7 separate regions of the Homo sapiens genome follow, and all the other regions are linked to region 1. Evidence: promoter capture Hi-C in 16 types of primary human blood cells and fetal thymus (Javierre and others, 2016). All regions are on one chromosome and are shown on one strand. The core of a region is centred on a gene start or on the middle of the fragment in contact, and the rest is flanking DNA. Distances in the headings are between cores, read along the strand shown. Region 1 holds the start of NDEL1 (nudE neurodevelopment protein 1 like 1). Region 2 overlaps PIK3R5 (phosphoinositide-3-kinase regulatory subunit 5). Region 3 holds the start of LOC124903920 (a long non-coding RNA gene). Region 4 overlaps PIK3R5 (phosphoinositide-3-kinase regulatory subunit 5). Region 5 overlaps PIK3R6 (phosphoinositide-3-kinase regulatory subunit 6). Region 6 has its middle 11 kb from the start of MFSD6L. Region 7 holds the start of TRL-TAG1-1 (tRNA-Leu (anticodon TAG) 1-1).

Region 1 (3,950 bases), core at 919-3,418:
GTGCTGCCCAGGCTGGTCTCGAACTTCTGGGCTCAAGTGATCTGTCTACCTCAGCTTCCCAGAGTGCTGGGATTACAGGTATGGGCCACCATGCTTGGCCCTGTGCAAAAAAAAAATTGGAAATCCATGCATAGTTTTTTCATAATATGCATATTATTCATAATATTATTCATAATAGGCATATGTAATATGTTACCTTTCCCACAAACCCCATTAATCCCTTCTCTGATCTTTATTGATTTGGGTACCTCTTACAATCCATCTTGCATTGTTCCTGTTTATGTCCATCGCCCTCAAAAATATAAACTGGGCCTCCTAGGCTCACTTTGTTTTCACCTTGAGGCATGTCTTACACATTATTTTTGTGTTCACACCCACAAATCCAATCCTAAAAGCACTGAAATTGGAAAGGATTACATTGCGTGCCGCATGGAGGCTGGTGCCTGTAATCCCAGGACTTTGTGGGGGGCTGAGGTGGGAAGATTGCCTGAAGTCAGGAGTTCTTTTTTGTTTTGTTTTGTTTGTTTTTAGACGGAGTCTCACTCTGTCGCCCAGGTTAGAGTGCAGTGGTGCTCACTGCAACCTCCGCCTCCCGGGTTCGAGCGATTCTCCTGCCTCAGCCTCCGGAGTAGCTAGGATTACAGGTGCCCACCATCATGCCTGGCTAATTTTTGTACTTTTAGTAGAGACAGGGTTTCACCATGTTGGCCAGGCTGGTCTCGAAGTCCTGGCCTCAGGTGATTTGCCCGCCTCGGCTTCCCAAAGTGCTGCAGCGCCTGGCCGAAGTCAGGAGTTCTTGACCAGCCTGGGCAACACAGTAGACCCCATCTCCTAAAGGAAAGGATTACCTTGTACATTATACAGCAAAAGTTCTTAAAATTGTTTTTAAAATGTATCTCTTCCTTTAAGTTTCCACTCCCTATGTAAGTTGCCTATCCCTCTTTCCCTCCTTTTTGGGCTAGTATCGTCTCCAGCTTGCTTCCAAGTCCGCTAGGGAATACACACGCGCGCACACACACATACACGTGTGTGTTTACGTACTAAAAATATATAAACATTAATAATGCAAGATGGGGCCGGGCGCTGTGTCTCACGCCTGTAATCCCAGCACTTTGGGAGGCCGAGGCGGGCGGATCACGAGGTCAGGAGTTCGAGACCAGCCTGGCCAACATGGTGAAACCCCGTCTCTACTAAAAATACAAAAATTAGTCGGGCGTGGTGGCAGGCGCCTGTAATCCCAGCTACTAGGGAGGCTGAGGCAGGAGAATTGCTTAAACCTGGGAGGCGGAGGTTGCAGTGAGCCGAGATCGCGCCACTGCACTCCAGCCTGGGCAACAAGAGCGAAACTCCGTCTCAAAAACAAACAAACAAACAAACAAACAAAAACCAAGATGGATTGTAAGAGGTATATATATACACATAGGACTCCATTTCTTGGGGGACCTGGAGGGGAGAAAGTCACACCCATACACACACGTACACGCATGTATACAAAAATGAATATATGCTCAGATATATACAATATATAAATGGGCAAATATAAAATCCCCTTTGTGCCAACGAATCCATTCATTCATTCATCAAATATTTGAGCGTCCACTTTGCCTAGAACCAAGTTATCTGTTGGGATGAGCAAGGCATAAGAGGTTCTAGCTCTCATAGAACTTAGAATTCTACTGGAGGAAGATGAGAACAAATACAAAATGTAAACAGTGGAAGTTCTGTAAAAACAACACAGAGCTTTGTGAGAGTGATGCTTAGAATGCTCCTGATGTTCCATTGGGTGTTCGAGCAGGGGGAATGGACTCGGAGGTGAACTATGAGCCGAGATTCATTTTATAAACGGGAACACAGACACATGGACACTTGAAGGGCCTTGGTGGCCAGAAAACTGAAGGCAGGTTCCCATCCGTCTTGGCACCACTCTCCCGAATAGCAGTTTCAGGGAACTGCACAAGCCAAAACCAGCCGGTCGCAGAGTCCAGGAGCGCCTGCGCAAGAGGACGCCTGCGCAAGAGGACGCCGTCAGCTTGGCGTCAGCGCGCCGGGCTCTGGCCCGCCCCCTGTGACACCAGCCCCGCCCCACCCCGCCCCGCATACCCGTGCGCTGCCGCGCATGCTCCGAGCCCCGCCCCCGTGCGTCACAGAATGGCCTCGGACACCCAGGCAGTCCCTGACGTGTCGGGGAGGAGCCGGGCGCGGAGGTACGCTGAGTGGAGCTCGGGGCTGCGTAGGGGAGCTGAGCCGAGCGGCTGGGCGGGCCTGGCCGGGCCGGCGGAGGGGAGACGTCGGTTGAGCGGCGGCGAACATGCGCTTTTGACACATTGGAGGTGAGCCTGCAGCGCGGGGCCGCTCCCTAAGGGGCTGCGCTGGGCCGGCGGCGCCGAGGCCTGCCCTTGGGGAGCCTTCCCGGCCCGGGGCCGTGTCTGAGGCTCCGCCGGGGCGGGCCGGGCCGGGTTCCGGGGCGGCCAGCCTGGGGGCAACTGTTCCAACCGCTCTAACTGTCCCCTCCCTTCCCTGGTCCGATGTGTGGCCCCCCAGGGGCGCCTGCAAGGGAACGATTCCGGTGGCCTCCGGAAGATGTGCCCCGTTCCGGGTAGGGTGAGGGCTGGCGGTGACGGAGGCCGGGACGTGGCACCGTGGGCTGGGGCGCTGGCGGCGCAAGGAGTGGCCCAGTCGGAGGTGGCAGCGGCGCGCCCAGCCCGCCTCCTCCTACCCCCTCTTCGAAATTCCTTCATTTGCGAGGGTGGCTTGGAGCGGGGTTGCATTTTGATCTCTCAGTGCCTCTCTCCCATGGGGGGCGAGAGCGCGAGCAGCCCACGTTGGGCTCGGATTGGCATTCTCCTGACTCCCGCCCGGAACTGCTAATCATCCTCCCCCTGGAGTTCGGCAAAGTGTCACCAACGGGCTCGGGTTACTTGTGCTCGACTCTTTTCTTGCTGTAAGCCATGAGATGACCCTTTAAGTTTTGCAAAGGAGGTGAGAGTTCTGTCACCACTGATTATTACCTTCTATTTACGTAGCACCTTTACACGTTTCAGAGCACTCTTCTTCCTATCTTTTTCTAACCGCATCACCTTGTGGTTGCAACTGATTATGTTATCGCCATTTCGATGGGTAAATGGAGCTGGGATGGGGGTAATTATTTATACTTAGGTTCAACCAACTGGTGAGTGGTTTAGCTTGGATCATAATTTACATTTCTAGGCTCGGAGTTCTGGTTTCTTTTCGTGGGATTTTTATACCCTTCTCAGCTACAAAACAAGGCAGAAAATGTGACTTGCCAAAGATATGCCAGAAGCTGGTAGATTACTTACTCAATTATTTTTGAGAAAACTCACCTAGGATAAAAACGGCTGCTCAGTCATGAGAAAAATCTTCCTGTGAAGCTTGTTCAGGAGTTGCTGGTTAATTGCTTTGCTAAATCGTGAAGTTGATGGGCACAGTGCAGCGTTAAGTCATGGGCTGAAGAGAAGTAAAGGGAAACCAAGTGAAGTATTTCTTCTGAATTATTATTAAAATTATTGTTATTTAAAATTAGAGTGCGTGAGAAACAAAACCTTTGGCCAGCCCTGGTTAGAGGTTGACTTGATCCAGATAGAAGTTGCTAAATCTTCTGAAGCTGTAGTTCTTTTGATTTTTTTAAATTAAATAAATTGAAGTTGGATAAAGAGCTTAAAATAAGTAGGAACCTTAGTAAAACTTAGATCTTGCTTTCATGACATCTGCAAAACAACTTATTTTTGTTTTCATTTTAAACCATGCTGGGATAAATTTGGTTACTAAAGCTTAAAATTACTTCTGACGTAAGTTTCTGAGCACTCCATAAAGTAAAAAAGAAGTCTGATAGAATCAAAGAGAGACCGTGTTTATGATCAACTTTGAAGAGTTAAAAATTCTGTAAATGTCACCTTTGAGAGTAGTAGAATTTCAGTAAAAAGGCATATATT
Region 2 (3,950 bases), core at 614-3,113, 480 kb after region 1:
CGGGAGGCTGAGGCATGAGAATGGCTTGAACCCGGGAGGTGGAGGTTGCGGTGAGCCAAGATCATGCCAGCCTGGGTGACAGAGCAAGACTCTGTCTCAAAAAAAAAAAAAAAAGAAAATCTAGACTCTCAGTTGCTGGGGATTGTGAGCCCCACCACATCTATCTACACCAGCTGCCCCGCACAGCCCTGCATCCTCCAGAGAAAAGGCCAAGGCTCACAGGAGTGTGTGCCAGAGGGGATACCGAGCAACACTCTCTCGGACTCCACCGGTGATGACCGTGGTGGCTCACGGGGCCCAGGCGTCTCTAGCCTGGAGCATGTCCTGAACCGTGTGATCTGGGTTTTAAGACCCCTCTGCCCAGCCCCTGCTGCGATGGCCAAGCTGGTTATGCCATGAAGCAGGAGTGAGTCATCCTGCTCACTCATTACGTGTCCCACACTGTAATGGATGCAAACACAAGATGCAAATGAATGTTCTCAGCCAACACCACTTCTGCACACTCCTGTCCTTAAGGGGGCAGAACACAGTGCCATAGGACTGCTGCTAGCACACCGCACCCAATGCCTGACTGCCCATGGCTTCTCTTTCTCATTCTGGGGCCGCCTGTGACTTTCCCATCTCCTGGCCTCGGTGTGCCCCTTCCCCCCAACCCCACCCTGCTCAAGGGACACATCAAAGCCTTCTCCACGGAAGGGCAGGATATCCTCAGGCACTGGTGGAATTCTGGTGTGCCAGCCTCCCCGGCATTCCAAGGCTTTCTCGAGCTCGCCCCAAGTTCTTCTCAGAGGCAGGACTTGCCTGAGCCACTAGCCCCTGGGAGCCTGAGAGATGGGGAGAGGGAACCCAGCCAGGGGACCCTCAGCTGAGCTGCCCTGGGGGTTAACCCAGCACACCGGGCTCACCACCCACCCCTTTGACACGCTCATTTCCGTCTGAGTCAGTCATCAGCTGTTTCTTATGACTTGTCAGCAGAACCTCACGGCTTTGGGGCAGAGGTGAGGGGGGAAGACAGTGGCACCCGCTCTCCCAGCATGACGCCTTTTTTCAAAAGCTGGGCAAGCAGGGCCTGGCTTCCCTGGCATCACCCTCCCAAGCCCCCTCCCTATCTTGTTGAGAGGAGCTCCCATTGTAAAATTCCAGCTGCTGCCGGGAATGCCGCCCCCCGCCCCCCCGCCCCCGCCACCAATTCCCCTGCCAGTGGTGAGGTGGTGTTGAAATATCCAACAACAGGGCCTTCCCCCATCTCCAAGTTCCTCTTCTGAGCCAGCAAAGAGGACTCATAGTCCTTGCTGGGGACCCTGCATGGGGCAGAAAGGCCTGGAGTCGGGGTGGGTTGGTGGGACCCCAGAGGGCACAGAGAGAGCCAGTCCTGCTTCCACTTTTTCTTCCCATGTTGACAGGATGCCATGATGTGGAGGGCTCATCTTCCCTCTGGTGCAGGGCTGGTCAGAGGAGGTGTAGGGTCTGCCTGGGTCCAGCTTCCCAAGGCAGCCCACGATGGGGCAGGGAGGAGAGCCTCTTGGGGGTTTCTAAATAGTAATGAAAGGAGGAGTTAGAGGGCCTGCATCTCATATGGAGGGGGCCTCCAGGTTCTGGCTGGCTCTCCACACTGCTTTCCTGGTGTTCTGGAATATTCTAGGCCCATGCAGTCCTGGGCTGACCCAGCCTGCTTCCGTCCTGGATGACTCCTCCCTCTCCTGCTTCTTACCTTCCGAGGCTTGACTCTCCCTTCTCTGCCCCAGTCCCTTCCTCATGCCTTCATAAGGCAGAATCTCCACCGTGACCTAAGTAAAAGAATTCTTCCCAACACAGGAAGGATACACCAGAAATTAAGGAGATTGGTTAGTTACTATGGGAGGTGGAGGTGAGAAAAGGGTGGATAGGATCAAGGAATGAAACTGGAGATGAGGGAGGAACAGCACTTCTCTGAGGATTATCTGTGTGTATAGCTTTAACGCTTAGAACCATGGCGATATTTTACATACCCAAAATTAAATAAATAATCGAAATCAACCAGAATATGGGGGCAGGGGACCAAAAGTGGGAGACAAGCAATAACAAATTAACCTAACTGTATAATCAATTACTAACATAACCACACTGACGGGGATAGGGAATGAAAGCACTAACTTCAGTAACTTTGTAAAATGGTACTTTGACTGGATACTGGTCAAAGTCAAAAATAAAAACTATAGACAAATACTGTTTTCCAGTTATTAAATATGTTTCTCATATGAATGTGAGTTAAAAATTCTAAAAGTTCGGGGCCGGGCATGGTGACTCATGCCTGTAATCCCAGCACTTTGGGAGGCCAACGCGGGTGGATCACCTGAGTTCAGGAGTTCAAGACCGGCCTGACCAATATGGTGAAACCCTGTCTCTATTAAAAATACAAAAATTAGCCAGGTGTGGTGGTGTGCGCCTGTAGTCCCAGCTACTCGGGTGGCTGAGACAGAAGAATTGCTTGTACCCAGGAGGCGGAGGTTGCAGTGAGCTGAGATTGTGCCACTGCACTCCAGCCTAGGTGACACAGCAAGACTCCATGTCAAAAAAAGAAAAAAAAAGAAAGAAATCTGAAAGTTCTTTATGTGTACACTAGCATTAGACAAATAAGTGAATAAACCATAGATAATAAGAGCTAAAGAAAGATGTGACAAATAAAGAAGGGGGAAGGCTGGAATGAACCTTGTGGAGTTGGACCAGACTTGAAAGAATCAGTATGAACTCATGGTTTTTAATGTATATACAGATAAATACATATAGAAAAATTTTAAAAAGATGTATGTGCTTGGATTAATACACATACATACATTTTCTAGTTCTGTCTACAGAGAAAGCCCAGAGGCAATGACATCCCAGTAGCAACAAGCACACCTAGTGCCCAGATCTTGGTTTCTAAATACCATTTTCCAATAAAAGGAAACAGAGCTCCTTGGAGACATGGCTGATCCTAGGATTGAAACAGGAAATATACAAAATAAACCCAGCACATCTTGTAGTGCCAGAAAATAAGTCAATATTTGAAAAACCATGGGGAGTGTCAAAAGGACATAGGGTCTAACCTGAAGGAGCTTCCAATGGCCACAGCTAGGACAATTTGAATGAACAAAGAAAGTGATGAATTATAACTCATAGAATAAAATAAATACCCACAAGTCTATAGATAATTATAGATAATTAAATGTTATAGATAATTGAATAAAAACATAAATGGAGGAGAAATGACAGGTCTTCTTTACAAAAGAATTCCAATTAATAATGTGAGAGGAATGAGAGAAATAGAAAATTGTCACTAGGCAAACACCATGGTAATAATTGTAGATCCACTGATGAATGCTAAAAATCTGTTAGTGAAAATCTGTGGACAAATAGGATATTTGTATAGCCTCAAAGTATTTCCCCCCAAATAATTACCACTTATAAAGGGGAAAACAAGAACTTCTCAGTGGAGGAACCCAGCAGACAGCACATTAACCATATGATCAAGGTTAACATGACCAGCAATAAGCTATACATATCAGCATCATGTATCCCCTGCTGTAATGCACTGAGAAGGGAAGGACACGTCACTTCTTTGTGTTTTTTTGTTTTTGTTTTTTTGCCAAAAACACATAACTACAATCATGAGAAAACACCATTCAAAACCCAGTTTGGAGACATTCTATATGGTGATTACTCACCACATAGACATTCACTATGGTGAGTCCTCACCAAAGTGTTCAGGTCATCAAAGATAAGGAAAGATAGAGGACTATCACAGATTGGTAGAGACTAAGGAGACACAAAGGCTAAATGCAATGTGAGATCCTGTACTGAATTGTAGAACAGAAAGAGAACATTAGGGGGAAAATATGCTAAGATTCAAATGAGGTCTGTCGTTTAGTTAATAGTACTCTGTTAGTGACCATTTCCTGGTTTTGATAACTGCACCATGTTTATGTAAGTTG
Region 3 (3,950 bases), core at 419-2,918, 460 kb after region 1:
ATGAAACAGAAAGCGGGAGTTCACTCCCTCACAGAGCAGGGGCTGGGGACCCAGCGGGGTGGGTCGCCTTCTTGTCATAGCTTGGAAATAGGCCCAGGGCAGTCCCCATCGAGAGCAGGGCCACTCTGAACTGGGACTGAGCTGGGAACCTGCAGGACGTCCCCTCAGAAGTGCAAGTCTCGGGGGCGGGGTAGGGCGGGGGTTGGGGTTTAAAGACAGCTATAAATAGAAAGGCTGTGAGGTTCCTTTAGTAAAAGGCAGAAAATTACCACATAATGCTCTTCTAACTTGGGACCTAATTGCTTTGATTTTTGGCCTTTTGCGTGATGTTTACTTTATGTAATCATCGCATATTTAGAAGTTAACGTTTGGTCCATTTTGCCAGATAAGTCCTTGACACAGTGGCTATTACATCAGGACTTGGGACACCATCTGGTGGCCACTCACGTGCATTACAGAGAAGAGATCCTCACCCGCTCTCCAACCACCTCTACATAATACCATAGCTACCATAGCGGAGACAAACAGATATTCCCCATCTCCCTGACCATAAAACACATAGATACGCAAAATCTTCTCTTGACCTTATTTCTCTTTTCTTTTACTGTTTAATGCTTTTAACATTAACCCACACCCCGCTGACCCCATTTCTTCACCGCCACTTCTGCCTCTGTTGACCAAGGACATCCAGGCGGTCATACTCCAGGAAGCAGTAGACTCTGACGTCGCTCTCCCTCCACATCAGCTTTCTTCCAACACGCCCAGCCATTGGCTTCCAACCCCTCTGCCCTCCTGACCCTGCTCTCCTGAAGCTTGGCAACATTTTCCCCGTCCCCATACCCAACGGCCCAACCTCATCCTCACGCTGCTTGAACTTTTGTTTTGGAGTGCTTGGTACTGTTGACAACCTTCTCCTTGAAGCTCCTTCGTCTCCTCTTGTCTCTAGGATGAGGAGCAGTCTCTAACATCTATATTCGTGTGCCTTAGTCTCATTTTAGGATTGTGCTACAGTTAGAATCAGAAGCTGCTTCGTATGAGCTACGTGGACTCCACGCGACTGTTGCTCTATGTGTCCCGTTGCTTTAATGGGGGATATTTAGGAGGATACCTGTGCCTCTTGGCACACTCTGACCCAGAGAGAGTGATTTTCAGAGTTGTTTGGCTGGTGCTGAATACCCAAGGTACCAACAGTTCCCAAGCAGAACCTATGATCATCAGATAAACTCCCGCCCTCACCCCCAAAACACCATCAACCCCCTTCCTTGGCCTCTCTTGGTAATGGACCTCCCTGCTTAGCATGGGGTGTGGGGTTTTGGGGTAATTAACTGGTGGGCTGGGGCCTGAGCTGGGAACACATTAGAAAAGACTGTGCAATGTGGAGGAGGCTTTGATAATATAAGCTTTTGTACAGACTGACTCCTTTGAGCCTGGCTTAGAGATTGTACTGCCGAGTCCCCATTTGCTGGTATGTGCTGTGAGGTTGGAAATATCTCCCAGCACCCTCCATGGGCTTGGTTTTCACAATGTTACCTGGTGATGCCAGGGAGGCCATGAATGCTAAGTGGGGTGTGCAATGTCAGTTTCGAGACCACCCTTAACTCCACCCTCCACTCCCCAAACAGGGAGGCTGCACTGGGGAGCCTCAGATCCACAGACACCTCTCTCCCTTTGATCTTAGATCACACCCTTTCTTGGTCACCTTAGCAGATGGAAACAACTTTCTGAGTTTAGCTTCTTAGATCAAGATTGGTGCAAGGGCTAAACAAAAATCTTGCCTGGGTTGTTCCTACGTCAGGCTCTAGCAAGTAAGAAATTGAGAGAAGTCACCCCATACAGGCGAAGAACGGGGTGAGTGGGCAGAACACACTCATAGTGAAGTTCAAACTCCTGGCCCAGGTGTCCAAGGCCCTTCGCCATTAAGCCTTGTTCACCCATCAAAGCTTCCACTCTTTTTCAAAGTTGCAAATAGATGGGGATCCTGCACAGAACAGCAGACTGTGAAGATCCAGGACACAGGAAAATCACTACATCTGCCATCAAGCAAGCACTGGTATTAATGACACACGGATAGACAGGTCCATGCTGAGGGTGATGTGGGTACTTGAGCCTGGGGGAGGCAGGGAGCAACCACATCTGACTCAGTTTCCTCCTACAAGGGGAACACCAAGATTCCACGGAATCAACAGGGTGGAAGCAGAGCCCGGCCCCAACGGCATTGCAATCTCCAAATGAGACTAGATCAGGTTTGGTTCTCCAGCAACTATGATTAATATCAACTCATGGTGGACAGTTTGACCTACCTCATACCCTGAAGCAAACACCAGGCACACCACTCCCCACAGCAGGGTTTCTCTTACACTTCCCTCCTCACTGGGGGTCCCATGTATAGCGCCTTCCTGCTCCCCATCCCCAGGGTCCTGGACTCCAGAGAGGCTGGAGGAATTGGGGACTCATGGCTGTGGGCCTCAGCAGGGCCTGGGCAGGAAGGTGAAGCACGGATTTCAGGTGAATAAACAAAGGAGAAGACATAACAAGGGAGGCTCGGAATCTCTGGCCACCGGGAGTCCAGGAGCAGAGAGGGGGAAGGTGAGAAGGAATGTGGCTAGAAAGCCAAGAGGAAAATACTGGGGGGAAGGAACCCACTGGGCAGGCCTTCATGCAGGCAGAGGAGATGTGAGTTCTTGGAATGAAAGGCCAGTGCCACCACAAGACATATGCTGCTCTGAACAGGTGCAGTGACCCCACGGAAACGCCTGTGGGATGAGGTCTCCAGCTTTGCAGAGCCACCGGGCTTGTGGGGGCGAACTGAGATGAGACCTTTCATAACACCCTTTCACCACCCTGGTGAGAGTCACCCTAACAGGACCAATCCAGGCCTTATGGGCTACTCTTACAAGTAAGTCATATGTGGCAGAGACTTCTAGGCATCTACTCAATATCCATTCCTCGTTTTTTTATGAGTGGGACACTGGGCATTGTACCCAGTTGATGAGTCAATTTCTCAACCTCCCTTGCAGAATGTGTTAGGTGCAACCCCCCTCACCTCCTTCTTTCTGTTAACTGGAATGTGGACATGATGGCCAGCACTCCAGCAGCCATCCTAGACCAAGAAGCAACCTTGAAGATGGTGACTTTTGCCAAGGATGGTGGAGTGGAAAGATGAGGGAAGGCTGGTCCAGGATGTTCATGGGGCCACCATGCCAATGCTGGCCTGCCTTCATACAGATTGTGTGTGTGTATGTGTGTGTGTGTGGTGTGTGTGTCTGTGTGTCTGTGTGTAAAAGAAAAATAGCCCCTGAGAGTTTAAGGCATAGTTGTTTGGGGCTTTCTGCTATAGGCAGCCAGCTCAGTCCTAACTGATCACACCGTGTGGTTTCTGGAACACCTGCCTCTACTCTTTTCCCTAAACCTCCCCCACCTACTAGTCAATGATGTTTGACATCCTTCAAGAGGTCTAACCTTTCATTCCATAACCAGAGACAAAAAGTATAAAATCCAAATGTCTGTGATCAGTAATGTCCCCAGAGAAATGTAACACCACTGAAGAACATTCTGAATTCACCTGCCACCCGCTGATAAGCAAAACTGACCTAACCCAGGTTTGTTCCCCATTTGATAGGAAGTCAAAGGGTATGAAGCCATATTAAGCAACCCAAAGGGAAAGGGGCAGGAGAAATTCCCCAAGGGGGAGAGCGTTTATAAAAAGACAGCCTGGGCAACCCAGGGTCATGCAGCCATCTGTCAGTGCCTCTTGGTAGAAACACAGCTTTATGCAAATGTGAAAAGGATGGGATATGACTTTTGGTATCAAAGAGATATGGGTTCAAGTGGTAGAGCTCTTGTCAGCTATGTGACCTGGGGCAAGTTACATAAATGTCGAGCCTTCAGTTTCAGCATCTGAAAAATGGGAATAATAGTAACTACCCAGGGAGGTGTTCTGAGGGTTAGAT
Region 4 (3,950 bases), core at 655-3,154, 440 kb after region 1:
GTGAGCCACTGCGCCCGACCGCTGCAGTTTATAAGTTTTTTTTAAAAAAGTATTATCAGACAATTCTGGGTGTGTGATTCCAGGTTAGTAGGTTTGTTTTTTCCCCTCATACTTTAAAGATATCATTTCATCATCTCTGGCTTCCATTGTTTCTATTGAAAGAGAGAGTTCTCAGTTTAATTGTTGCTACTTTGAAGATAAAGTGTATTATTTTCCTCTGTCTTTAGTATTTTCTTATTACCTTTTTTTCTTTAGAAGTTTGACAGTAAGGGGTGTGTGTGTGTGTGTGTATGTGTGTGTGTGTGTTTAAGAAAAAACTGAACTCCAGATTGTATTGGGATTTTACCAGTTTTTGGATTAATGTTTCAGGATACAAGCCAGTGTCTACTGCTTATTTTTCAGGTTTACTCCATCTCTTTTTGTTTCTCAGTCTTTCCTTATTTTTTGTGACAGTAAGAGAGTACTGGTCAGGTTATCTGGTCCCATAGTCTGGGTTTATATGATCTTTTTTACTCTTGATTAGACTGGAGTTATGGAAAGAACATCAAAGGTAAAGTGCACTTCTCATGTGATTTTGTTTTTTTCTTGTGTGGAGATTCCTGTGTCAAAATTCCTGTGCAAAATTTGCTGGGTTTATTAAGTCTGTGGGTTGATGTGCTTCATCAGTGTTAGCCAATTATTGGCAGAAGGAATATTGTTCTTGTTCCAGGTTCCATTCCTAGGAGGCATCGCGTGTCTCTGCTTGCCTCTCATGCTGGTCCAATGTGTCTGAAAGACCAACGAAGCAGATCTGCACCCATCCTGCAGCTTGGAGCCAAGCCACTCTGAGCCCAGCCTAGATCAGGTGGTCCCTAGATGTCCTCCAGATGCATGAGCAAGAACAAATGATCGGAGACTTAGTTCCCTGAATTGAAGGTATGCTTCATTGTTTGCAATAGCCAGCTGATGCAGAGCTGGAACAGCTCACAGTTCTTTCTCCCTCCATCCTGAATAGTGTTCTGGCAACCTGGTACTTACCTCCCTCTCCCAAGCCACAGGTGTCCTCTACCATCCCTCCACTTCTTCTTCTCTCTTTCCTTATCACCCAAGTCTAAAGGCAGTCCCAGATCCAAAGGGCCATTATTGAGCTCTCTTCCCCTCCTCTCAGCTGCATGGTAGGTCCAGGATCCACTGTGCCACCCATCCGCAGCAACGGCCTCAGGCCCGTCCCCTCCCTGGAGCTTGGGGTACAGGAAACAGATGGATATATGGGTATATATTTCTCAAGTGAAGTAGCACAGGAAACCCCAAATGCTGAGTCCTTAGGTGTAGGAATTTTTGTTCTGTGGGTCAGTGAGTATGATGAGGCTTAAGCAGAACAGTATTGGGGAAAATTTTCACCCAAATATATTTTCTATAGGGTGGAAAATTACAAAAAGAGAAATAAAACAATCCCCTATGAAGCTTCTTTCTGGTATAAATAAAATGATTTATATAAACTGTCCAACTAGCAGGGTCATGCAGCAAAGTAACTACTGGTCATTAAATATAGGACAAATCAAGTTTTATTTGACAATAATATTAAATTCCACTCATTAGTTCCTGGACATCTGTTGATCACATAATAAGACAACCTGCCCATACAGCAAAAACATATTGAAGATACATGGCCCGCCACTCTTCTGGAGCTTAGAGCAAGAGCAGACATTAAGACAGGGGAGAGACGGCCAGGCAAGGTAGAAGCTGGCTCTGTCCACGTCTCTCAAGTCATGAGTACTCTGGGCTGGAATTTCACGTAAGGCCTTTTGGGCATAATGAATTAGGAGGCGGGGAAGAGGGACTTTGTGCAGGATACAGTTCATGCTTCCGTGGCTACTTTCTCCACATCAGTCCAGATCCTCGTCTTGACTTCTGCCCTATCTCTCTAGCCCATGTTTGCTTCCAGCTTCTCAAACCACTTCAAGCTGGTTGCTTTGAATTTCAGACTCTCGTGTCCTATCCTAGGCTGACCATTTCCCATGCACCAGTCCCATTTCCCCTGAGTCGGGCACTAAGCTCTGTGAGGCCAGTCACTCCATCCTCTGTTCTGGGATCTTGCCCAGGTGCCAGAAGAGTGCCAGTGAACTTGCGGATATGGAAGATTGTACACGCAGAGTGAGATGGGAGTGGGAGGGCCAATCTGATACAGAAGGGGGTGAAGGGTAGGGCCCCTGAGCAGCCCACCCCTTACCCTGACGAAGGCAATCCTCCTCTGGAATGTCTCTTCCCTCTTCAGTCTGGGTTCTGCCTCAGCCACGAACTGGGAAGGAGTGAGGAACATCCCAACGGCAATGAGAGTATCCCAGTGACTCCAAACAGGAGGAATCAGTGTTCAGAAAGTCAGGCACTAAGCTTTACTGAACACCTACTGGGAGCTCGGCACTGGGCTAGGTGCTTTGCAGACAATTTAACCTTTTAAGGATGTCTTATTTCCACCCCAACTCTCCACTCCATTTTAGTGCTGGAGAAATGAAGGCTTAAAGTTAATTAACTTCCTCTAGTGATTTAGCTAGAACTGAGCTGCTACTAAATTTAACCCTATCCTGTCTTCTAAGAATCTCAGATTCCAAAAGGAGATCAAGAGAGAATCTGTGCCGGGTTCTGAGAGTAGACAGGTCCAGCGTTAGTGCTGTTTTTCTGGAGACTCAGGAAACTTGAGAGAAATTATTGAGGTGTGTGCGTGTGTGTGTGCGCATGTGCGTACATGCATGCCATGTGTGTGTGGTGTTTGCAGGGAGAGGTGGTCTTGAAGTAGAGAAATGTTTCATCCACATTTCAATCACCTGAGCCCCACAGAGGAGGGGACTGAACTCCAGACATACAGGGTCCTCAAGTCTTTGGCAAAGTAAGGGGTAGGCTCAGCCAAGGTTGAGAGAAAAGGCCCAAGCCATCCCCCTGAGCACCAGAGCCTCAGATCTTCCTTCTAGAAAGGATCCTAGACCATGCTAATGGTCAGGGACTTCAGAGGTCAATTTACCCATCCTTCTCCTTCTACTGCCAGGAATCTAAGAGGCTATGGGGTCTGGCCCTTCTCTCTCTGATAGCTGTTGCTTTCCCAGAACCCTGAGGCCCCAGAAACCCTCTACTCCCAGCCCCTGCTCATTGCAGGACCCACAGTGGGACTATGGCTCTGCACAGGGCCATTCAGTTCTCCACAGAGAGGGACTGTCCTGGAGGGGTGGCCGAGGAGGTTGCCCCAGGGCTTCTGTCCAGTCTGGCGCTGGGCCCACACTAGGGCAGAGCTCCACTGAAAGTCATGATGGGCAGGCAGAGAAGGGAGCAGAGATCAGGTGCGGCCTGGGCCGGCAGGTCAGGAGGCGTCTGGGGTGGTGAGGAGAGGTCGCTCTTCTCTGGCTTGTAGCACGGTGAGACCTCACATCTGTGCAGCAGGGCAGGGGCCAGGGATCAGAGCAGGCCCCCATCCTTCCAGCTCCTTCCAGGCCTCTGGGTTGGTGGGAGCAGAAACTGCTCCCCTCCCTAGGACCCCCCTTTCCTACCTGACTACACTCTGCAGGATCTTTCTCTCATCCTGGTCCAGGCACACAGCAAAGGGGCAGCTGTTGGAGCCGATGATCTGCACCTTGTCCACTTTGATCTGCGATGTGCTAATCTGGAAGGAAGGCCCAGGTCAGCCCCAAATCCCTGGCCATCCAACACTGCCAGCCCCTGGCAGTTCCTTTTCTCAGAACTGCCCATCCACTTCTAGGGGTGTGGGAGGGCAGGGGTTTGTCTGACTGCGCTCCAGGGTTAATGGCCAGGTCACAGGAGGGAGCCTGAGGCCTCCATCAGCCCCTGCCTCCTCTCCAGCATCTGGAAGAAGCAAGTGCCCCCTGAGGAGACATTGCCCTGCCTGCTGCCCTCACCGGAGCAGCCCCAGGTCCCCTGATCCAGAGCCTGCTTTCTTTGGTCTCAGAGTCTTAGGACTCTCCTGG
Region 5 (3,950 bases), core at 555-3,054, 420 kb after region 1:
AGTTCGAGACCAGCCTGACCAACGTGGTGAAACCCCGTCTCTACTAAAAAATAAAAAAATTAGCCAGGTGTGGTGGCGTGTGCCTGTAATCCCAGCTACTTGGGAGGCTGAGGTAGGAGAATCACTTGAACCTGGGAGGTGGAGGTTGTAGTGAGTCAAGATGTCGCTACTGCACTCCAGCCTGGGTGACAGAGGGAGACTCTGTCTCAAAAAAAAAAAAAAAGAGAGAGAGTGGCAAAAATTATGACAAAAGATAATGACATCCAGTATTGGCAAGGATAGGATATGAGAAAATTTCCAGTCATACATAGTTGGTGAGAAGAGAAATTAGTATAGCCTTTCTGGGTGATTGCTGGACAATATTTATCAAAATTCAAAATATTCATACTTTTTTGTCTAAGCAATTCGACCTTTAAAAACCTATCTGAAGGGAAATATTGGACAAATGGATAAATGATATGTACAACAGCATTCATTAAAACATTGTTAACAATAGAGTACAACCAGAAAAAAAAAATAAAGGCACAATTATAGAGTACCAAGTAAATAAATTAATCTGTGCAACAAAATACTATGCAGTTATAAAATTATGGTGTACATCTGTATTGGCTGAATTCGGAAGATACAATACCATTTACAATAGCTCCAAATTTTTTTTTTAAATAAATATTTAGGTGGGGCGCAGTAGCTCACGCCTGTAATCCCAGCACTTTGGGAGGCCGAGGGGGGCAGATCACAGGATCAGCAGATGGAGACCATCCTGGCTAACATGGTGAAACCCCGTCTCTACTAAAAATACAAAAAATTAGCCAGGGGTGGTGGCGGGTGCCTGTAGTCCCAGCTACTCGGGAGGCTGAGGCAGGAGAATGGTGTGAACTCGGGCAGTGGAGCTTGCAGTGAGCCGAGATTGTGCCACTGCACTCCAGCCTGGGTGACAGAGCAAGACTCCATCTCAAAAAAAAAAAAAAATAATAATAATAATAATAAAATAATAAATAAATATTTAGAGATAAATCTAACAAAACGTGCAGGAGCCATATGATGAAAACTATGAAATGCTAATTAGATAAATCACAGAAGACCTAAATAAATGGAGAGAAATACTGTGTTCATTGTTTGGAAGACCCAGTATAGTTAAGATGTCAATTCTCAGCCAGGCACAGTGGCTCACATCTGTAATCCCGGCACTTTGGGAGGCCAAGGGGGGCAGGTCACGAGGCCAGGAGATCAAGACCATCCTGGCTAACATGATGAAACCCTGTCTCTACTAAAAATGGAAAAAATTAGCTGGGTGTGGTGGCATGCGCCTGTAGTCCCAGCTACTCGGGAGGCTGAGGCAGGAGAATCGTTTGAACCCAGGAGGCGGAGGTTGCAGTGAGCTGAGATCATGCCACTGTACTCTAGCCTGGTGACAGAGAGAGACTCCGTCTGAAAAAAAAAAAAAAAAGTCAATTCTCTCCAAAATCATTTACATATTTAAGGTAATTCCAATAAAAATACCAGCAGGATTTTTTTTTGTAGATACATATAAGTCAATTCTAAAGTTTATAGGGAAAGGCAGAGGAATTGGATTAGCCAAACAGTTTTGAAAATGAATAATGCCTGAGAACTCACACTCCTTTATTTTTATTTTTTTTTGAAACGGAGTCTTGCTCTGTCGCCAGGCTGGAGTGCGATGCGTGATCTTGGCTCACTGCAACCTCCGCCTCCTGGGTTCAAGCAATTCTCCTGCTTCAGCCTCCCAGGTAGCTGGGACTACAGGCACACGCCACCATGCCCAGGTAATTTTTGTATTTTTAGTAGAGACAGGGTTTCACTATGTTGGCCAGGCTGGTCTTGAACTCCTGACCTCGTTATCCTCCCGCCTCGGTCTCCCAAAGTGCTGGGATTACAGGTGTGAGCCACCACGCTCAGCTTCGCACTCCTTATTTTAAGAATTACTATAAAGTTATTAGTGAAGGGCTAGACACATAAATCAATGGAACAGAACGAAGAGTTCGGAAGCAGGCCCACACAGATATGGCTAATTGATTTTTGATAAAGTTGTAAAGGCAAGTCAATGGAGAAAGGAGTCTTTTCAACAAATGGTGATGGAACAATTGATCATCGATATGCAAAACAAGAAGCAAAACCTTGACGTAAATTCCAGACCTTACACAAAAATAAACTAAAAGTGGACATAGATTTGAATGTAAAATTCAAAACAATAAACTTTTAGAAGAAAGCATAGGAAAAAATCCTTGTAACCTCATGTGAAGGAAGAAGTTTTTAGATACAATACCAAAGCATGATCCATAAGAGGAAAAACATGACAAATTAGACTTCATCAAAATTTAAAACTTTGGTTTTATGACAGATACCTTTAACAAAATGAAAAAACGGGCCGGGCACAGTGGCTCACACCTGTAATCCCAACATTTGGGAGGCCAAGGTGGGTGGATCACCTGAGGTCAGGAGTTCAAGACTAGCCTGGCCAATATAGTGAAACCCCATTTCTACTAAAAATACAAACATTAGTTGGCTGTGGTGGCTCATGCCTGTAATCCCAGTTACTCAGGAGGCTGAGGCAGGAGAATCACTTGAACCCGGGCAGCAGAGGTTGTAGTGAGCTGAGATCGTGCCACTGGACTCTAGCCTGGGTGACAGAGCGAGACTCCATCTCAGAAACAAAACAAAACAAAACAAAACAAAACAAAACAACAATAAAATAAAATAAAATAATAAAATAAAATGAAGAAGCAAAGTATAGACCTAGAGAAAATATTTGCAAATCACATCTGACAAAGAAAAAAAAAAGAAAACTAGGATAAATAAATAACTCTCAAAATTCAACAGTAAGAAAACAAATAATACTCCCCAAATGGGCAAAAGATCTAAATAAATACTTTACTAAAAAAGATATGTGGATGGCAAATAAACACATTAAAAAAATGCTCAATGCTATCAGCAGTTTGGGAAAGGCAGATGAAAACCATGAGATCTCACTATATGCCTATTAGAATGACTAAGATTTTAAAATGAGCAATAGAAAGTGCTGGAGAGCACACGGAGGAACTGAAATTCTCTCTTTTTAAAAATTATACTTTAAGTTCTGGGATACATGTGCAGAACGTGCAGGTTTGTTACATTGGTATACACGTGCCATGGTGGTTTGCTGCACCCATCAACCCGTCAGGAGGAATTGGAATTCTCATACGTTACTGGTGAGAATGCAAAATGGCACAGCCGTTCTGGAAAACAGTTTGACAATTTCTCATAAAGTTATGCGTCACTTACTGTATGATCCCGTAATCCCTAGCTTTTTCCTCCAGAGAAATAAAAACTTATGTTCACACAAACACCTGCTCATGGATATATATAGCAGCTCTATTCAGAATGGCCCCAAACTGGAAACAACACAAATGCCTTCAGTGGGTACGTGAATGAGCAAACTGTGATACACCCACACAGCAGAATCCTCGGCATTAAAAAGAGAACTACGTGCAACGACACGCGTGAATCTCAGAGACATGCTGAGTAAAGGCAGCCAGGCGCTAAATCCTGCATGCCGTATGGTTCCATTTATATGACATTCTAGAAACGAAAATAAAAACTACAGGGTCAGAAAATAGGTCAGTGTCAGATAAAGGAGTCTTTATCTCTTTTTTAGTCAAACTTTTAATTCTGAGATAACTGTAAATTCCCATGCAGTGGCAAGAAATAGCACAGAGTTTCTGGGTACCCTTTACCCAGTTTCCCCCCAGTGATAACATCTTGCAAACAATGTTACTGTATCAAAATCAAGATATTGGTCAGGCGTGGTGGCTCACGCCTATAATCCCAACACTTTGGGATGGTGAGGCAGGTGGATCACTTGAGGTCAGGAGTTCGAGACCAGGCTGGCCAAAATGGTGGAACCACGTCTCTAATAAAAATACAAAAATTAGCCAGGCATGGTGGCAGGTGCCTGT
Region 6 (3,950 bases), core at 715-3,214, 350 kb after region 1:
TGCCAGGTTCTGGGGAAGGAGATGAACCTTCATTCCAGGCCCCAGCATCTCTCGGGTTCCAGAATGCTATGCTATTCTGCAGGGTGAGAAGGGCTGGTGTGCCCTTGGCCCAAAGGAGGGAATCACGTCAAGGCCGAGAGGCACAAACTTAGAAGGTCACAGAGACCAAGGCCCTCATTTTTCAGACATGGGAGCTGAGACCCAGTGGGGTAAGTGACTTGCCCAGGGGTCATATTTTAAGTTTTACTTCTGTAGCAGATGACAACTGTCTTAGTCCGTTTTCTGTTGCTTATAATGGAATACCTGAAACTGGGTAATTTAGAAAGAAAAGGAATTTAGTTCTTAAAGTTACGGAGGCTGAGAAGTCCAAGGTGAAGGGGCCACATCTGGTGAGGGCCTTCAGGCTGAGGACTCTCTGCAGAGTCCCGAAGTGTTGCAGGGCCTCACGTGGCGAGGGGGCTAGGCATGCTAGCTCAGGTCTCTCTCTTTATAAAGCCACCTGCCCCACTCCTATAATAACCCATTAATTCATTAACCCATTCACTTATCCATGATGGCAGCATCCTCATGAACCATTCACCTCTTAAAGGTCCCACCTCTCAATACTGTCACATAGAGGATTAAATTTCAACATGAGTTTTGGAGGGGACAAATATTCAAACCACAGCAACACCTCACCAGTCACGTTTCTGTCGTGCACCGCAGGCTCCCAGGATTGGAAAGAACTTCAGTCCAGTGGAGCCTCATGTCTCCAAGCCATTTCACAGCCAGGCTAGCAAAAAGATAAAGGTTTCATGAACATGGCTGTGGAAAGCCAGTGGATGCTGAGCATGCCTTCTGCTTTGCTCCACATCACAAACATCACCAAGTGGCAGGGCTTCTGGTCTCAGTGACAGTCAGCAATTGTAGAAGGAAGCTAGCAGATGAGGAGTTTTTGCTGTATTGTCTATAATTCTTTTTTTTTTTCTTTGAGAAGGAGTCTCGCTCTGTCGCCCAGGCTGCCAGGCTGGAGTGCAGTGGCGCGATCTCAGCTCACTGCAAGCTCCGCCTCCCGGGTTCACGCCATTCTCCTGCCTCAGCCTCCTGAGTAGCTGGGACTACAGGCACCCGCCACCACGCCTGGTTAATTGTGTGTGTGTGTGTGTGTGTGTGTATTTTTAGTAGAGACAGGGTTTCACTGTGTTAGCCAGGATGCTCTCCATCTCCTGACCTCATGATCCGCCGGCCTTGGCCTCCCAAAGTGCTGGGATTGCAGGCGTGAGCCACCGCACCCGGCCTGTATTGTCTATAATTCTTATGATCTGAGCTTTGGTTTCAGGTTTTGGATGGATGGCTTCATGGGCTCCCGGGCTCTGCCATTTCTGCAGAATTTCCTCCTCATCACATGGGTTCAAAATTACAAAATCATCCACGATCCTTGATACTCCTTCTTCGTTGATCCCCGCGGCCCCATTATCCAATAAACAACCAAGGGCTGTCTTGTTGATTCCACTTTTGAAATTCCAATACACATACTATGTTGTCATTTGATTCTCATACCTTTTGGGATGCAGCCTCTTCTTGCCTGGAATGTTGTGGTGGTCTGTCCAAAACAAATGTCTCAGCACCCATAATCTCCACCAACTCAGACTCATTGTTCACTTCGCAACAGGCAAGAGTTAAAAGCTTTCAGTCCTCTCCATTGGCTAGTCAAATCTTCTCTTCTAGAGGCCCCATAGTCTTCAGAGGAACAACCGTGGATTTCTAGCAGCCAGATATGGGTTCAAACCATGGCTCTACCATCTAATAGTCGCAACCATGGGCAACTAAGTCAGTTGACCTTTCTGAGCCTTGGTTTCCCCTACTGTAAATTGAGATTAGTATGAGGATTATGAGTATTGCTGTGTGCAGGTGTGAGGCATAAAGAGCAGAAGCAAATTTCAACCAGTGTGAGTTCTGTTTCCCTTAGATTGAGGCTTAGGAAGTTCACAATCTGTTCCAACACTTCTTTCCAACTTTATTTTCCATGAATCTCCTGTGAAATCTACACGCGTATCTGGTGTGTTATCTCTATTGTGCCCCTATCCCTGATCATTGCTCCCCTGCTAGGAAGAGCCTCTTCACTTGCCTGAGTTGGTTGAATGTAGCAGTTGGGAGGACGGACTCTGTGGTCAGATAGATCTAGTTTCGAATTTTAACCTTTCTGAACCTTAGTCAAGTCACCTGTACAATGAGGCCATACTAATATCTTATTTCATAAATTTGATGGTCTGACTTAATGAGATAAGCTTTGTCCACCTCTTATTAGCCCGACGCACAAGATTCCTGCTAGTCTGGGTGTGGGAGCCCAGATTTGTCCCTGGCATCAACTCTATTGGGTTGAAAAGATCATCCAGAAAACTACAAATGGCATTTTTCAAAGGGTCTTCTAGGGAACACTAGTTCTGAAAGATCGTGATTAGTGTTACATGCGAAGAAGGCTGTGACACCACATAAGGGGAATTATAGGTCAAAGAGAGAGAAACAAGTTTGTTGACTGCAGGCTTTTGAGAGTCTTTAATTGCTAACAGGTATTGCAAGTTTCTAAAAGGTGACAATAATTAACATCATTTTCCAAAGTTGTTTGACCACAGACAGAATCCTTATGTAATGCTCTCCCCAACCCTCCACACCACTAGGATTGCATGTTCTGCAAAACTCAGTTGGGAAATAGTGGTCTAAGTAAACCTGAGCATGATGGTTAATGGCTCATTCAATATTTACATTCCTCTTAGCTGGAACCAAGACATGTCAGAGGGTCAAACTCAATATCTTTAACAGCTACAAGATCAGGAGCTGAGAATTGTATTTACTTTTGATTCTGTAAAGCTTAACTGACCTACTGGTAAAGTAGGTAATAGAGTGAAAGTCACAGCTTGAAGTCTAAGACTTTACGACCCAGTCCTTCCTCCATACGCCGGCTTATTTCATAAACTCCATGAGGGTCTTTTCAGAAGGTCCCTGCGCTCAGCTGTCCTGTCTGCCCAGAGAGAAATGCTCACTATTTAAACTTCTCACTTGACATTTACGTTGTCCTGTCCCATTCTGTTTGTGGACATGGTTTTGTGGTTCGGCCTTTCCTTCTAAATTGTCAGTATTGTTCCCAGGCAGGCTTTGTCATAGAAACAAAGTGCAGTTCAAGGTTTCACATCTGCACAAATAGGCAGGGTGGGTAGCATCGGCCTCATATCCAAGGGAGAGAGTCCGTTGAGTGTTACTCCGATCGGACGGGGGGGGTAGTTCACATGTGCATCCCCAAACAATGATTGCGGCCCTGTGAACAAAATGTGCAGAATGGCATAAAGCCATTGGGAGGTGACATTAATTACCCCGGGAAGATGTGGGAGGCATCTGGTGACGTTATGCAGGAGGGAGTGGTAGACGCGTTCCTAAAGACTCACCCAGCACCCTGAAGGATCACAGCCTTGCTCAGTACATACTTATGAAGGAAGGGTGACCTGAAGAACGCTTGAGCCCAGGGCCTTCACTCTGAACTTACTTCCCTCTATCACAGCCTCTGACTCTGCAACACCTCACCCCAGGGTGCCGCCAGCATAAAGACAGAAGCCTGCAGGGCTCAACAAGGAGAAGGGGCAAAGTGAAGAGAATTCGGGAAGCTCGTGACAGCAAAATCACAGGTCATGGAGTAAAGGGAAGACGAAATTAGAAAGGAGGTTTCCTAATTTGGGACATTGGGAAGATATCTGGCAGAAAATCTGCCTCAAGCAGGTTCATCTGTTTAATTAACCTGAGGCCAGTGACTGTTTTGTTGTTGTTGTTGTTTTATCCATGAAATGTGACCAGCATGAAAAATCTGATATGCATATTTCAGAGGACAGCCCCTGTGACATTCGTCAGCTTATTAAAGGAAACAATATGCCCTAAAACGTGAAAAGCCACTTCCTTGAAACCAAGTCGAGGGGGAATGGTAA
Region 7 (3,950 bases), core at 616-3,115, 310 kb before region 1:
TTAATGAAATTTTAAGTCTTTTTGTTTGTACAAAGCCTTCCTTCAAAAGAAGATGTGTATTTAGAAGCTGGCAATACATCTGAATTCATATATTTCAAGTGCTCGATAACGGTGTCTACCATATCCAACAGCAGACTTTGTTTTGTTTTCGTTTTAAGTGACGGGTGTGGAAGACACGCAAAATAGAATGTCCAGTAATGTACACAATCTTGAAAGACACCACGAGGGAGGTTCCATGGTGTAATGGTTAGCACTCTGGACTCTGAATCCAGCGATCCGAGTTCAAATCTCGGTGGAACCTTGAAGCTTTTCTTTTAATATCAGCATGTTGAATATTGTTAATTGATTTTCACAGAGGGGATACTCCTATGACCCAAGATAATACGACAAAAAAAAAAAGTAAACTAGGACACTACCAATTATTTGTGCTTTTCCTACCGGATAATTGAGTCCTATAACACAGTGTTAAGAGAACGTACAATAAATTATTTAAATATGTTGGAAGTTGAGCTAACATTTGAAAACATGTTAAAATAGAGATGTTATGAAGAAACGAAATAATAGAGATGTTATGAAGAAACGAAATATTGCTTCAGCAGTTACCATCAGGTCTTAGCTTCTGGGATGGATGCAGGCCTATGATCTCTCTGGAAGACCAAACACGGAAGATGATGGTGAAACCATTACCAGGGGAATTCGTAAAATTACTTTCTGCATGTAAATAGGTGTAACCTCACAGAACTGTTAACAGAACTGTAGCAGGTGCGTAATCCACCAGAAAAACTCCAGCCTGGCAGCGGTGGGATTCGAACCCACGCCTCCGAAGAGACTGGAGCCTAAATCCAGCGCCTTAGACCGCTCGGCCACGCTACCTGCACGAAAACTTACTGTCCCCGTTGTCCTCCTAAGAGACTAGAAGTAAGGAATGGGGCAAATCTTAAGAGTGCCAAATTGATTCGTCTCCTTTTCCACATCTTTTAGACTGGAAATGAAGAACCATCGAGACTGTGGACCGCATAGCAGCAGATGGCAGAACAGATAAACGAGAAGAGACAAAAACACACAGAAATTTACAACAAAACTAGTTTATTTGGGTGGGACTATATCTGGGAGTGGGGAGCGCCTGAGCCGGAAACACCCCCCAAGCGGGCAGCCGGAGCTCTGCACTCGCTCGCTCAGCCATTTTCGGTTGCTCTCCCTCCCTGTTTTTTCGACCCATGTGCGCCCTCTCTCTCACCTGGCTAACATGCTTTGCGCCCGCTACCTCTACCTGGCTTGGCCTCTGAGATCCAAACCGCGCCCTCCTGGCATGTCCCGCCCAAGTCCCTTAGCCCCGCTCCCCAACCCTGCCCCATTCCCACTCTAGTACCCGTAAGCTACAAGACGCCGCCGTTCGTCGGGTGGCTCTGTGGCGCAATGGATAGCGCATTGGACTTCTAGTGACGAATAGAGCAATTCAAAGGTTGTGGGTTCGAATCCCACCAGAGTCGATTTTATTTCAATTTTTCCTTTTTATCCGTTTTTTTCTTAAAGGCCCCCATCCCTTCTCCCCCTACCCTATCTCTCTCTTTCCACCTGGTTTCAATTTCGATCTCAGTTCCCGCTCTGCTCTCTTCTTTACTTACCTGTCTGCCCCGGGGCTTGGGCCATGGAGAGCAGGACTGAGGGTGGGAGACAGAAGGGAAGGGAAAGTGGGCGTGGACGTCGAGATAAAGGCAGGCCCCTGGCTCGGGGACACACGGGGATTTAATAACCACTTTATTCCATGCACTAGGGACTCGGGAAGGGACTGGGACTGGGCTGAGGGGCAGAGAGAGTACAATCCTAGACGCAAGGGAGAAGTTGGGGCAGGGAAAAGGGACAGGAACCAGGGAAATATATATTTATATAGATACTCTAATATAGACCACATCTCACCCGCGCGCTGAGCCCGCGCGCCCCACTGCCCTCCCCAACACCTGCTCGCCCGGACGCCCGGGTCCCTCTGCTGCCCTCGGGCTGGAGTCTCTACCCCACCCCTAGACCCCGCCCCCACCACCCCCCAAGGCTCAGGGCCAAGGTCTCCAGAAAGCGGGCGGCGGGGGCAGCGGGGCCTTGGGCGCCCCGTCTTGTCTGTGAGGCGGCGGTGGCGGCGGCAGCAGTCCGGTGAGGGGCGCCGGCGCGCCAGAATCCCCGGCGCGCGGGGAGCAGAGGGATGGGGACCATGCGCAGCGCGGGCTAGGGTGGCCCTGGTGCACTGGGGGGCGCTGGTGCAGCGCAGGGCCAAGGGCCGGTGCGGCGGGGTCCAGGGATGGGCGCGGCGCTGGAGGCCTCGGATCTACCGGCTTGGGCCGGGGCGGTTTGGGGCGCAGATAGCCGTGCAGCGCGGAGAAGAGCTGGGCGCGGGCGGCCGGGCTGGCGTCGTGCGCGAAGGCCGCCAAGCGAAGCAGGCACTCGCGGAAACCGGACAAGTAGCAGCTGGCGAGCGCCTCGGCGTCCTGGACTGGGGACCGGGGAACCCCTGGAGCCGCGGCGGCTGGTGCGGCCGGCGGGAGCACAGGTGGGCAGGGCAGGGGCCCGGCAGGGGTGAGGGAAGGGGCGGGGCGCAGAGATACCAAGGCCGGACAGGCGCACAGAGACAGGAAGCCAGATGGACGGAAAGAGGGAGAAAATGAGGGAGACACAGAGACAGACACGCGCGGGTGTTATTAACCTCGCCTCGGAGCAGAACCGGCCACTCCCCAAGCCCACCATCCACCGCAGGGCCCGCCCACTCTGCCCCGGCCGGAGCCTCCTGGCGTCCCCCCTCCCTCCCTCCGCTGCCCCACCCCCGCGCTGTACCCGGGGGCTCCACCCGGCTTCGCTCCCTCAAGTAGCCCACGGCGAACTCCAATATCTCCGCTTTCTCCAGCTTCGGGTTCCGGAGGTTCTACAGACGGGAGGGGAGGGCGCAGAGACAGAAAGGGGTGGGGAGAAAGGGGGAAAGTGGCAGGGGGAAGAAGGGAGGGACGGATGCGGGAGCTGGTGGTGCCCCCGATCGCATTTGCGCACTGCCCACAGAACGCGCGACCAAATGCGGAGTGGAGATGACCAAGGAAAGTCCTGGCCCACCCTGAGACGAAACTGTCCAATCCTAGGGGTTGGAACCAATGCCCAACGCGTGAGGAGGAGATTTGAAACCGCAACCCAGGGAATGAAATTAACCACCCGACATAACAGAGGCTGGCTCATCAGAGGCTGGCTGTGGGGGAGGGGGAACCGGACACTTAGAGACCCAAAGGGTGAAACTGACCGACCCCGGGAGCGAAATTTACAGAACCAGGCGTGAAACTTACAGACCCGAGGGGTGGCGAAGAAGATCGCGTTCTGAGAGCGAGTGGGGGTCTGGGATGGAATTCCAAAGGCGGGACTCGGGTGAGGATGCCTTGGGGCCAGGGTTGCCAACCAAGCTTGTGTCCCCACCCCAGTGGGAAGCCCTGGGACGCGGAAACGGGAAGCTTGGGGACCTAGGGCTAGCGGAGGGACTGACCTGGTCCCGGGTCCGCTCCAGCAGCAGCAGCCTCAGCTCTTCCAGGCTGCGGTTGATGCGGTCCCGGCGCCGCTTCTCCACAAGCGGCTTGAGCATCTGCGACCAGCGAGAAAAGGAGAGCGGGCCGACCAGACCGAGACTCAGTGCGGCCGCCCCGGCGTCGGATCCCGCCGCTGGGAGAGCCCGGCTTCCACCCCGGCCACAAGACCCCAGATTGCCTAGGGCCGGCCCCATTCGATCCCTCTCCGCTCCCCCTCCCAATGCCCCTAGATCAGTTTCTGTAGCTCGCCTCCCCGGATCTTCGCATTCTCCTCTCTCAGTCTCGTCCTCCCTCCTCCCCTCTCTGTGTCTCTCCTCCTCTTTTCTCTCTACGTCTCCGTCTGGTGCAGTTTCTCTTTGTCTCAGTGGAGAACTTTGGGGACTCTCTGCGCGCACGCACGTG

The links. Contacts are between HindIII fragments. The CHiCAGO score rates a contact against its expected background, and 5 or more counts as called.
Region 2: a fragment that was not itself captured here is called in contact with the fragment with the promoter of NDEL1 in region 1 in 1 of 17 cell types (monocytes); the score reaches 5.4 in monocytes.
Region 3: a fragment that was not itself captured here is called in contact with the fragment with the promoter of NDEL1 in region 1 in 8 of 17 cell types (naive CD4 T cells, fetal thymus, naive B cells and 5 more); the score reaches 10.4 in naive CD4 T cells.
Region 4: a contact is called between a fragment that was not itself captured here and the fragment with the promoter of NDEL1 in region 1, in 3 of 17 cell types (naive CD8 T cells, naive CD4 T cells and total CD8 T cells). The highest score is 5.7, in naive CD8 T cells.
Region 5: a contact is called between a fragment that was not itself captured here and the fragment with the promoter of NDEL1 in region 1, in 1 of 17 cell types (monocytes). The highest score is 5.2, in monocytes.
Region 6: a fragment that was not itself captured here is called in contact with the fragment with the promoter of NDEL1 in region 1 in 7 of 17 cell types (monocytes, M2 macrophages, M1 macrophages and 4 more); the score reaches 10.6 in monocytes.
Region 7: a contact is called between a fragment that was not itself captured here and the fragment with the promoter of NDEL1 in region 1, in 4 of 17 cell types (erythroblasts, megakaryocytes, total CD8 T cells and 1 more). The highest score is 12.5, in erythroblasts.

What each region holds. Positions count from the first base shown.
Region 1 is chr17:8,433,716-8,437,665 of GRCh38, forward strand. NDEL1 (nudE neurodevelopment protein 1 like 1) reads left to right here and starts at 2,169. Exons shown (of 9, transcript NM_030808.5): 1 at 2,169-2,330. RefSeq lists silencers at 1,973-2,142, 2,243-2,442, 2,483-2,722. The HindIII fragment of the contact is 3,991 bases long and covers 1-3,387 here.
Region 2 is chr17:8,915,316-8,919,265 of GRCh38, forward strand. The region is part of intron 1 of PIK3R5 (phosphoinositide-3-kinase regulatory subunit 5); the gene reads right to left. Among named protein-coding and RNA genes, the nearest start is that of PIK3R5, 48 kb to the right of the region's middle. RefSeq lists silencers at 529-578, 1,009-1,078. The HindIII fragment of the contact is 9,333 bases long and covers 1-3,950 here.
Region 3 is chr17:8,894,691-8,898,640 of GRCh38, forward strand. All of the region lies in intron 5 of PIK3R5 (phosphoinositide-3-kinase regulatory subunit 5), which reads right to left. LOC124903920 (a long non-coding RNA gene) reads left to right here and starts at 2,496. Exons shown (of 3, transcript XR_007065611.1): 1 at 2,496-2,586; 2 at 2,731-2,896. RefSeq lists enhancers at 171-240, 251-450. The HindIII fragment of the contact is 540 bases long and covers 1,399-1,938 here.
Region 4 is chr17:8,877,390-8,881,339 of GRCh38, forward strand. It overlaps PIK3R5 (phosphoinositide-3-kinase regulatory subunit 5), which reads right to left. Exons shown (of 19, transcript NM_001142633.3): 18 at 3,516-3,628; 19 at 1,527-3,397. The coding sequence ends at 3,250. LOC124903919 (a long non-coding RNA gene) reads left to right here. Exons shown (of 3, transcript XR_007065610.1): 1 at 1-915. Among named protein-coding and RNA genes, the nearest start is that of PIK3R6, 12 kb to the left of the region's middle. The HindIII fragment of the contact is 927 bases long and covers 1,442-2,368 here.
Region 5 is chr17:8,852,531-8,856,480 of GRCh38, forward strand. All of the region lies in intron 1 of PIK3R6 (phosphoinositide-3-kinase regulatory subunit 6), which reads right to left. Among named protein-coding and RNA genes, the nearest start is that of PIK3R6, 13 kb to the right of the region's middle. The HindIII fragment of the contact is 7,845 bases long and covers 1-3,950 here.
Region 6 is chr17:8,786,462-8,790,411 of GRCh38, forward strand. No RefSeq gene overlaps it. Among named protein-coding and RNA genes, the nearest start is that of MFSD6L, 11 kb to the right of the region's middle. The HindIII fragment of the contact is 602 bases long and covers 1,664-2,265 here.
Region 7 is chr17:8,119,523-8,123,472 of GRCh38, forward strand. It overlaps HES7 (hes family bHLH transcription factor 7), which reads right to left. Exons shown (of 4, transcript NM_001165967.2): 2 at 3,509-3,604; 3 at 2,821-2,908; 4 at 1,070-2,515. The coding sequence ends at 2,049. TRL-TAG1-1 (tRNA-Leu (anticodon TAG) 1-1) reads right to left here and starts at 873; the gene lies at 792-873. TRR-TCT2-1 (tRNA-Arg (anticodon TCT) 2-1) reads left to right here and starts at 1,403; the gene lies at 1,403-1,490. It overlaps TRQ-CTG1-5 (tRNA-Gln (anticodon CTG) 1-5), which reads left to right and starts at 230; the gene lies at 230-301. RefSeq lists silencers at 79-128, 259-348, 719-928, 1,869-2,328, 2,549-2,658. The HindIII fragment of the contact is 3,122 bases long and covers 305-3,426 here.